Regions from separate parts of the Homo sapiens genome. Here region 1 is linked to region 2. The links are contacts of gene promoters, found by promoter capture Hi-C in human tissues and cell types (Jung and others, 2019). All regions are on one chromosome and are shown on one strand. Each heading gives the region's core, a stretch centred on a gene start or on the middle of the fragment in contact. The rest is flanking DNA. Distances are from core to core; before and after follow the strand shown.

The links. The method cuts DNA at HindIII sites, captures the fragments that hold promoters and counts their contacts. A contact is called where the count stands out against the background at its distance.
Region 1: the fragment with the promoter of ZNF211 here is called in contact with the fragment with the promoter of ZNF324B in region 2 in 1 of the 25 tissues and cell types used here (lymphoblastoid cells).

Annotation. Positions count from the first base shown.
Region 1 is chr19:57,631,889-57,636,341 of GRCh38, reverse strand. ZNF211 (zinc finger protein 211) reads right to left here and starts at 3,174. Exons shown (of 4, transcript NM_006385.5): 1 at 2,906-3,174; 2 at 2,281-2,319; 3 at 1,587-1,713. The coding sequence starts at 2,995. RefSeq lists a silencer at 2,855-2,924 and enhancers at 3,365-3,414, 3,485-3,574. The HindIII fragment of the contact is 12,794 bases long and covers 2,167-4,453 here.
Region 2 is chr19:58,449,548-58,453,594 of GRCh38, reverse strand. It overlaps ZNF324B (zinc finger protein 324B), which reads right to left and starts at 1,973. Exons shown (of 4, transcript NM_207395.3): 1 at 1,891-1,973. RefSeq lists silencers at 1,534-1,963, 1,941-2,267. The HindIII fragment of the contact is 12,073 bases long and covers 1-4,047 here.

The DNA.
Region 1 (4,453 bases), core at 1,925-4,424, 820 kb after region 2:
AAGGAAAAAGCTTCATGACATTGGACTTGTTAATGATTCCTTGGATATGATATAAAAAGCATAGACAATAAAAGTAAAAAAGTAAAACTGAATTCATCAAAATGAGAAACTTGTACATCAAAGGATCCTATCAACACACTAAAAACGTAACCCACAGAATAAGAGAAAACATTTGCAAATCACATATCTGATAAGGGAATATCTAGAACACACAGATAACCCTTAAAGCTCAATAAAAAATTATATTTAATACTTCTAATTATAATTAATAAAACCTAATTTAAAAATAGGCAAAGGACTTGAATAAGCAATATCATTTGAAGATATACAAATAGCCAATCAGCACATGAATAGATGCTCAATATCAGTAATCTGCAAATCACAACCACAGTGAGATATCACCTCACACCAATTTGGATGACTTATCAAAAAAATCAGAAAATAACAAGTGATGGTGAGGGTGTGAAGAAACTGGAACCTTTGTCAGCTGCTTGTGGGAATGTAAAATGGTGCAGCTGCTATGAAAAACAATTTTAGTGGTTCCTTAAAAATTAAAAATAATTACCTTATGATCCAGAAATTCTACTTTTGGGCCAATACCCAAAAGAATTGAAAGCAAGGACACAAATACGTATCTGTACACCCATGTTCACAGTAATATTATTCACAACAGCCAGAAGGTGAAAACAACCTGTGTCCACTGATGAAGGAATGGATAAACAAACTGTAATACATACAAAAGAATATTATTCAGCCTTAAAAAGAAGCAATTCTGATATATATTACAACATGGATGAATCTTGAAGATATTATGCTAAGTGAAGTAAGCCAGATAGAAAAGAACAAATATTGTGTGATCCCACTCATATGAGGTACTTACAGTAGACAAATTCATACAGACCAAAAGTAAAATGGTGGTTGCCAGGGGATGGGAAGAGTTATTATTTAATGAGTACAAAGTTTCAGTTTTATAAGATGAAAAAGTACTATAGAAGGATGGTGGTGATGGTTGCACAATAATGCGAATGTACTAAATGCGCTGAACTATATACTTGAAAATGATTAAAATGGTAAATTTTGTTATATATATTTTACAATTAAAAACAAAGAAAAACACCTTGAAGGAGGTTTCTATAAGAACAGTCTGTGTAATGTCTCTGCGGCACAATTTGTTAGAGTGTTCTGCTGTTAATGGAAAGGTTGGTGGTTGAAGAACAGTCTGTGTAAATAGTGGCAATGTCAGTGACTACATTTCATGTCACAGTCTAGCACAAATAAATGTTAGGTACACGAAGGGAGGGAAAACTGGGTGCCATAGATCTAGAAAGTCACCAGACAGGGAGAAGGCAAGTCAGGTGGGATCTATTAGGCTTACTGTAAGACTACTGATCCCAAATCCTTACCCAAGATGCTTTTGGGCTGGGACGATAAGGGAAGTAGGCTTGCACTCAGTCCACAACATCTACCCAGGGAACTGGGGAAGGAGGCAGTGCCTATAGTCCAGATATGAGGACAGAGCTGCTCCTGAGGAAAAGGAGAAACAGAGAGCCTAGTCCAGGGCACAAGGGTGAGTATGAGGGCCTTACCCAGGGAGGACGTAAGTGCAAAGTTCTCCAGCATCACATCGAAGTACAGGTGTTTCTGAGCCTCATCAAGGAGATCCCATTCCTCCCAGGAGAAGTACACGGCCACATCTTCAAAGGTCACACTTCCCTAGCATAATAGGGATTGATGAAACCATGAACAGTCTCAATTTGGAAGACTCAAAATCCATGTCCCCATACATTCTCCTCCCAAGATCCCCAAGTCAGAAGAGACACCAGACCTTGGTGTCATTGATCCCTGCTGTCTCTTCACATTCCCATTAGTCACTGTGTTCATTCTGTTTTCCACTCTGTATCCTGTCAACACTTGGGTTAGATAAATCTCCCTCCTCTGATCCCAAACTCCAACTTCCTCACAATAGATGCCAAACTTCACAGAAATAAAGGAAACCTGCAGTTCCCTGAACCAGCTCAGCCTCACCTCCAAGGAGTTCCAAAAGCTGGTACCTACCTGTTTCTATCATAAATTTTCACCCATCTTTCCATTGGCTGCTCCAAATGGAAACATTGGCCTGGACTCAGGGCCCTTAGCTCAGGGATTCTCCAGGGTTCCCAAACCAAACGCTGAGAGAATGGTAGGTGAGTCCCATGACACCACAAATCTAAAGAAAATATCTGTCTGGGGAGGGTGGAGGGACATTCCAGACCAGTGAGGGGCTGAGATACCTCCACTTACCTGTGTAAGTTTGAAAAGCACCTCTGTAGCTATGGGAACCTGTGGAAAGACGCAGGCCTCAGAGGAATGTGATCATGGCAGTGCTCCATGGGCACAGGCCTTCCCTGTACCCTTGCCCCGGCCCAGAGCCACGTAACTTTGGGTCGACTGTCTAACCTGTGCGCCTCGGTCCTTAGTGCTGCCTCTCACCAGTTGTGTGGCCTTGGAAAAATATTCAACCTCCCTCTGCCTCAACGTCCTCATCCATCTCTAAAGTCTTTTCTTCCACTGAACAGCCTGCAGAGGATTTTTCAAATTTAACTCAGATGGTGTCTCTCGTTTGCGCAAGCTCTCTATGGCTCCCACGGCCCTAAGAATAAAGGTAGATCTCTCTCAAACTTTGTTCCCTGCAGTAACAATGTGGAGCCCAGGTTCCTGAATGCCCCCTTCTCGGTTGCCCGTCCAAGCCCTGCACGCGCCGGTCCTGTCCCTTGTCCCCCTGCCCACCACATCGGATGTCAGAAATAGGGGCCCCACCCACGAGCCTCAGTGTCCCCGACCCTGTGCTACAGAGACGTGAGCTGGTGCCTCTCACTTGGGACTTAAGAATCTCGGCCGGGGGAGGCCCGGAGATCGCAGCGCTCACCGAAGCCGGGTCCCTCAGTGCGGTCGCCATCCGAGTCTGTGGGCGGAGCTGGACCGGGAGCTGCGGGCGACCCGGGGGGAACCCGAGCATCGCTATCCCCAGGCCGGCCTCGCGGGCGGCTCTGCCCCCGACCCTCAGACCTGACTCTCGCGCCTTCACGGTCCGTCACTTCGATCCCGATGCAGCGTACCAAAGCGGCTGACAGACAGAACGGACCTCCGGGAGGGCAGCCAAAATGACCGCTGCGAAGACGCCACAAGTCCCGCCCTGGGGGGGGCGGGGGTAGACCCACACGGAAATGCCCCTGTCTTGGATTTTCATTGGATCAAAGTACTGCCGCTCGACGCAAGGCTTTCTGGGTAATGTAGTCTCCCCCAGGCTGCGACGGAGGGCGCCTTGTGTGCAGACAGCTGGGAGCGCTAGGAAGCTGCGTCTGCTGCCTTCCAGGGCGACTGAGGGGCTTCGGTGTTTGAGGTCTTAAGTAGGTTGACACTTGAACAACACAGGTTTGAGCTGTGCGGGTCCATTTACACGTAGGCGTTTTTTTTCCCCAATAAACGTTACTTCGAGTGTGCTCCTTTTCCTGCCTCTTCCAGCTCCCCGACCTCTTGCCCCAGAGACAGCAAGACCTCATTCTCTTGCCCAGCATGAAGAACACAAGGATGAAGACCTTTATGATGATCCACTTCCACTTAATGATTAGTAAATGTATTTTCCCTTCCGTATTCTTTTATTTTCCTTTTTTTAATTGGGTGTAATGTCAACGAGCCTCTTACAATTTTCCTGATACCCTTTCTCTGGTCTGTTTTAGTACAAGTATAGTTCTTATACTAAAATATATATAATGCATATATCATACAAAATGCATATATCATATATATTATGCATATATCATGCATATATCATACAAAATGTGTTAATCGACTGGGAGTTTATGTAATTCATAAGGCTTCCGGGCAACTTCATAAGGCTTCCGGGCAACAGTTGGCTATTAGTAGTTAAGACCTAGGGGAGTCAAAAGTAATACAAGCATTTTCAATTCCGCAGGGGTCGGTATCCCTGACCCCTGCGTCGTTTAAGGGTCAGCTGTATATCAGTCTCTAGTGTAGAGGTTCACTTCAGTATTTAGACATCATTTCAGATTCCATGCAGCCCACCCCAGCAGATCTCCACTGGTAGTGGGAAGCGAAAAAACGTTATCTTATTGCTCTTCAAATGCATGCAGCCTGAAGTGTTAAAGTCACTTTTTGTAGGTTTTGTCAGGGACAAAAGACACCAGACAGGGCTACAATGGGAAGATAGTGGAGGGATAGTGGGCAGCCCTGAAGCCAACGGACAAGGGAAGTTCCCTGCTTCTGGTGCCCCCAGAAAACGCTCTCCTGCCTGCAAAGTCAGTTTTGTTCATAAAACATGAAGCTTTAATACATGAATGTTCATTTTCCTTGTATAATCAAAACATTTAATTTTTTTTTGAGACAGGGTCTCACTCTGTTGTCCAGGCTGGAGTACAGTGGAACAATCATAGCTCATTGCAGCCTCCACTTCCTG
Region 2 (4,047 bases), core at 724-3,223:
TCCTTGGGTTCCACCCCGAGATTATCTTCAGGTGGCACTTCCCTCACCTGTCTGGGACCCCTCCCCTCTGCCCTCCTGGTCCAGGCCCCAGATGGCTTCTTGACTTCCCCACTGGCCACCCCTACACAAGCAGGCTAGAGCAAGCCCTGGCTGGGCCCTTAGCTGCCACACCAAGGGCAGCCCCAAATATCCACTCGTGACTCAGCATGACCATTCATGACCCTCCCCAGATGTGCCCTTCTTGCTTTTGTAATAAGCAAGGGTGTAAGTCCCAGCTGTGGACCCCCCAGGCATGCCCATCACTGAGACCTTCCCCTGCTGCGCTTGCCTGACATTTCCAGGCTGCTCATCCAGCCTGAGGGACTGGATGATCCCCACCAGTCGTCATAGGGGTGCAGCCCCAAGAACCTGTGAACACAGGGGAACTCAATCCCTTCCTCCCTCCACATGGCGCCCCCTCCTCAATTTATTTATTTATTTATTTATTTATTTATTTATTTATTTATTTATTTTTATTTTGGAGACGGAGTCTCACTCCGTCACCCAGGCTGGAGTGCAGTGGGGCAATCTCGGCTCACTGCAAGCTCCGGCTCCCGGGTTCACGCCATTCTCCTGCCTCAGCCTCCCGCCACCACACCTGGCTAATTTTTTTGGATTTTTAGTAGAGACCGGGTTTCACTGTGTGAGCCAGGATGGTCTCGATCTCAGCGCTCCCGCAATTTCTTTCCCACATTGCTGCCACCCTCTCCTATTCAGCCACCTGCCGAACTCCTCCCCTGATAGCCTCAGGCACCCCAGCCGGTTTTCTTTACCCTCAAGCTGTAACTCCGCACGCCTGACTGCTCATCGCCTTCTTCAGTCCAGTTTATAGGCCCTGTCCTCAGCCCAGGACACCAACAACGTCAGGTCCAGTGACATGACCAACCTGGGACATCCCAGACTCTTGATCTTTCCCCTGAAGGAAACCTGCTTTCCTTTCAATTCTCCTTTCTATCTACAGCAGCTCTCTTCTTCCAGGCGCTCAGGCTGAACAACATGGGGTACTTAGTTCTTCAAACAGCCCACACCTGATGCATCCGCAGATCCACCAGAATTCACCTGGTCGCCCACCTCCACTGCTGCCCAGACTGTGGCAGTCGGTTCTTCCCTTCATGCCGACACCCCTGCATGTCTGTTCTCCACGCAACAAACGGTGGAACCGTTTTAAAGTCCCAACTCAGAGGATGTCCTGATTCTGTTCAAAACTTCTATGTCTCCCGACGCCCTCGAGATAAAGCCCACTCCCTCGCCTGCTACTGCAGCCGCACACATCCCCTCTACTCCAGCTCCACATCGAGAGCGCTCAGTCCCAGAAGCATCTGGGCTTCGGCTCCCCTCCCAGGTTTTGCACACGCAGGACTCTCCCCTCGGAGCCTCCTTCGGGACCTCAGCCCCCTGGCTGCCGGAAGTCGGGAGCTCACCAGTGCCCTGGACGCAGGAGTTTGCACTGACCCCCGCAACCCCCCCAGGGCAGGGAGAGGAAAGACGACTAGGCGAGGTCTAGGAAGCGGCCTCACTCCGTGGGGGCGCAGTCTGTGTGAGCAGGGACTCCCCCGCCCCCCCGGCGCGGGCTTGTCAGCGCCACCGCCGCCAGCGGAACCCGCAACTGGGAGGGAAGAAAGGCATGGACCACCCGGGACCGCCATCCCCGCCAGCAGCCTCCCGCGGCTGCCCCGCGCCTCAGCCTGCCCGGCAGTCATGGGCGCAGAATGCCCAATGCGCTGCCTCCTGGGCTTCCGCGGGGCGGGAGAACGCGTGGTTCCCGCCGGGGCCCGACCGCCCCCGGGCCGACCACGTCATACTCGAAGATACCGAGGCTTGGGGGCGCGGCCGGCTGCTCGTGGTCCGTACCTTCCTGGCCGCCCGCCTCGGGCCCCGACCCGCGCGCCACAGCCCAGACCACCGGTGTGGCCTGACGCGAGCAGCCAAGTGACAGTCCCAACGCCGGAAGTCCAGCCCCCAGAGCTCACATTGCCCCAATACGCGCGCAGACGCTTGCGCACAGCCTTCTGGGTTATGTGGTTCCTGCCTGTTTTTCGGCGCGGAGGCGGGGCCATTACCAGTCTCCATGGCAACGGCTAAGCGCCGCCGCGCTGGGCGCCTGGAAATGGAGTAGCGCAGCTGCCGCGGGTTTCCAAGGGCTCCGTGGCACTGGTTGAGTCGCCCGGCAGGTTGTCCCGCGTTGGGGATTCCCAGTTCCTGGCACCCACCTAAGCAGCCCTGGAGACTAAACCCTGCAGGTGTGAAAGCAGAAACTGCGGAGGTTCCAGAAGGCAACACCAGCAGGTAGCAGGGAGGAGAAAACGCACCGGGTAGGGCAGGTGTAGGTGGAGGAGCAGATGCCTGGAGCTCCGGGTTCCCTTCCCAGCTTTGCATCTCACTGACTGTGCATCCTGGGCGAGGGTTTGATCTCTCTGTGTGTCAGTGTCCCGTAAAGGTTTAAGGTCCGTTTTTCAACCTCTACACCAAGAATTCTCAGCCTGTAATGACACTACCCGCTTGTCATTTGTCTTGATTCTGTGATTGTTCTTGGACGCTCGCCCAAAACTTGTTTTCCTTGTAACTTGGACGAGCAGAAGGTAATTCCCCAGCCTTGCTTGTCCTTAGACCATCTAGTTCTTGCTTTGCCCCACACATCACAACATGGATGCTTTGTTCCTTTTTTCTCTGGACCAATCTAAGTGTCTTTGACACATAACAACAAAAGGCAGGGCAGTCTCAATGTAGACTGACCATGTTGTTGGCAGAGAATAAACGATTCTCTCTTTGTTGCTTCCCTGTGAGGGTCTTGTTTTTAGGATCCTTAGACAGTTCTCAGATGTCAAGTACGTTAATTCATTTTGTCTTCCTCTATACCCACCTCCATCTATAAATATCTGTCTACTGTCAGCTATAACTGTCCACAGAATTGATTCTACTTGTAGATCCCTATAGTGTAAGATAGCTCGACAATTTTTGAATGTTTTTATTTAAATTTTTCCTGCTTTGAAAGAATTTAAGAACACTTAAGTACTATTGTGATTTAATCAAATGCTTAGAGGCATTATTAACATTTCAAGCAATTTTTTTTTACTTTTTTTTTTTTTTTTTTGAGACAGGGTCTCACTCTCTTACCCAGGATGGAGTGCAGTGGTGCATACTCGGGTCACTGCAACCTCCGCCTCCCATGCTCAAACAGTCCTCCAACTTCAGCCTCCCAAGTAGCTGGAACTACAGGCAGGAGCCACGATGCCTGGTGTATTAGTCTGTTTTCACGTTGCTGATAAAGACATATCTGAGACTGGGTAATTTATAAAGAAAAAGAGGTTTAGTGGACTCATAGTTCCACGTGGCTGGAGAGGCCTCACAATCATGACAGAAGGTGAAAGGCACGTCTTACATGGCAGCAGGCAAGAGCAAATGAGAGTCAAGCAAAAGAGGAAACCCCTTATGAAACCATCAGATCTCGTGAGACTTACTCACTACCACAAGAATAGTATGGGGGAAACTGTCCCCATGACTCAGTTACCTCTAACTGGGGCCCCTTCCACAACATGTGGGAATTATGAAAGCTACAATTCAAAATGAGATTTGGTTGGGGACACAGCCAAACCATATCATTCTGTTCCTCGCCCCTCCCAAATCTCGTGCTCACATTTCAGAACCAATCGTGCCTTCCCAACAGTCCCCCAAAGTCTACTTATTTCAGCATTAGCTCAAAAGTCCACAGTCCAAAATCTCATCTGAGACAAGGCAATTCCCTTCTTCCTATGAGCCTGTAAAATCAAAAGCAAGTTAGTCACTTCCTAGATACAATTGGGGTACAGCCGTTGGATAAATACACCCATTCCAAATGGGAGAAATTGGCCAAAAGAAAGGGGCTAAAGGCCCCACGAAAGTCTGAAATGCAGCAGGACAGTCGAATCTTAAAGTTCCAAAATAATCTCCTCTGACTCCATGTCTCACATCCAGGTCACACTGATACAAGCAGTGGGTTCCCATGGTCTTGGGCAGCTGCAGCTCTGTGGC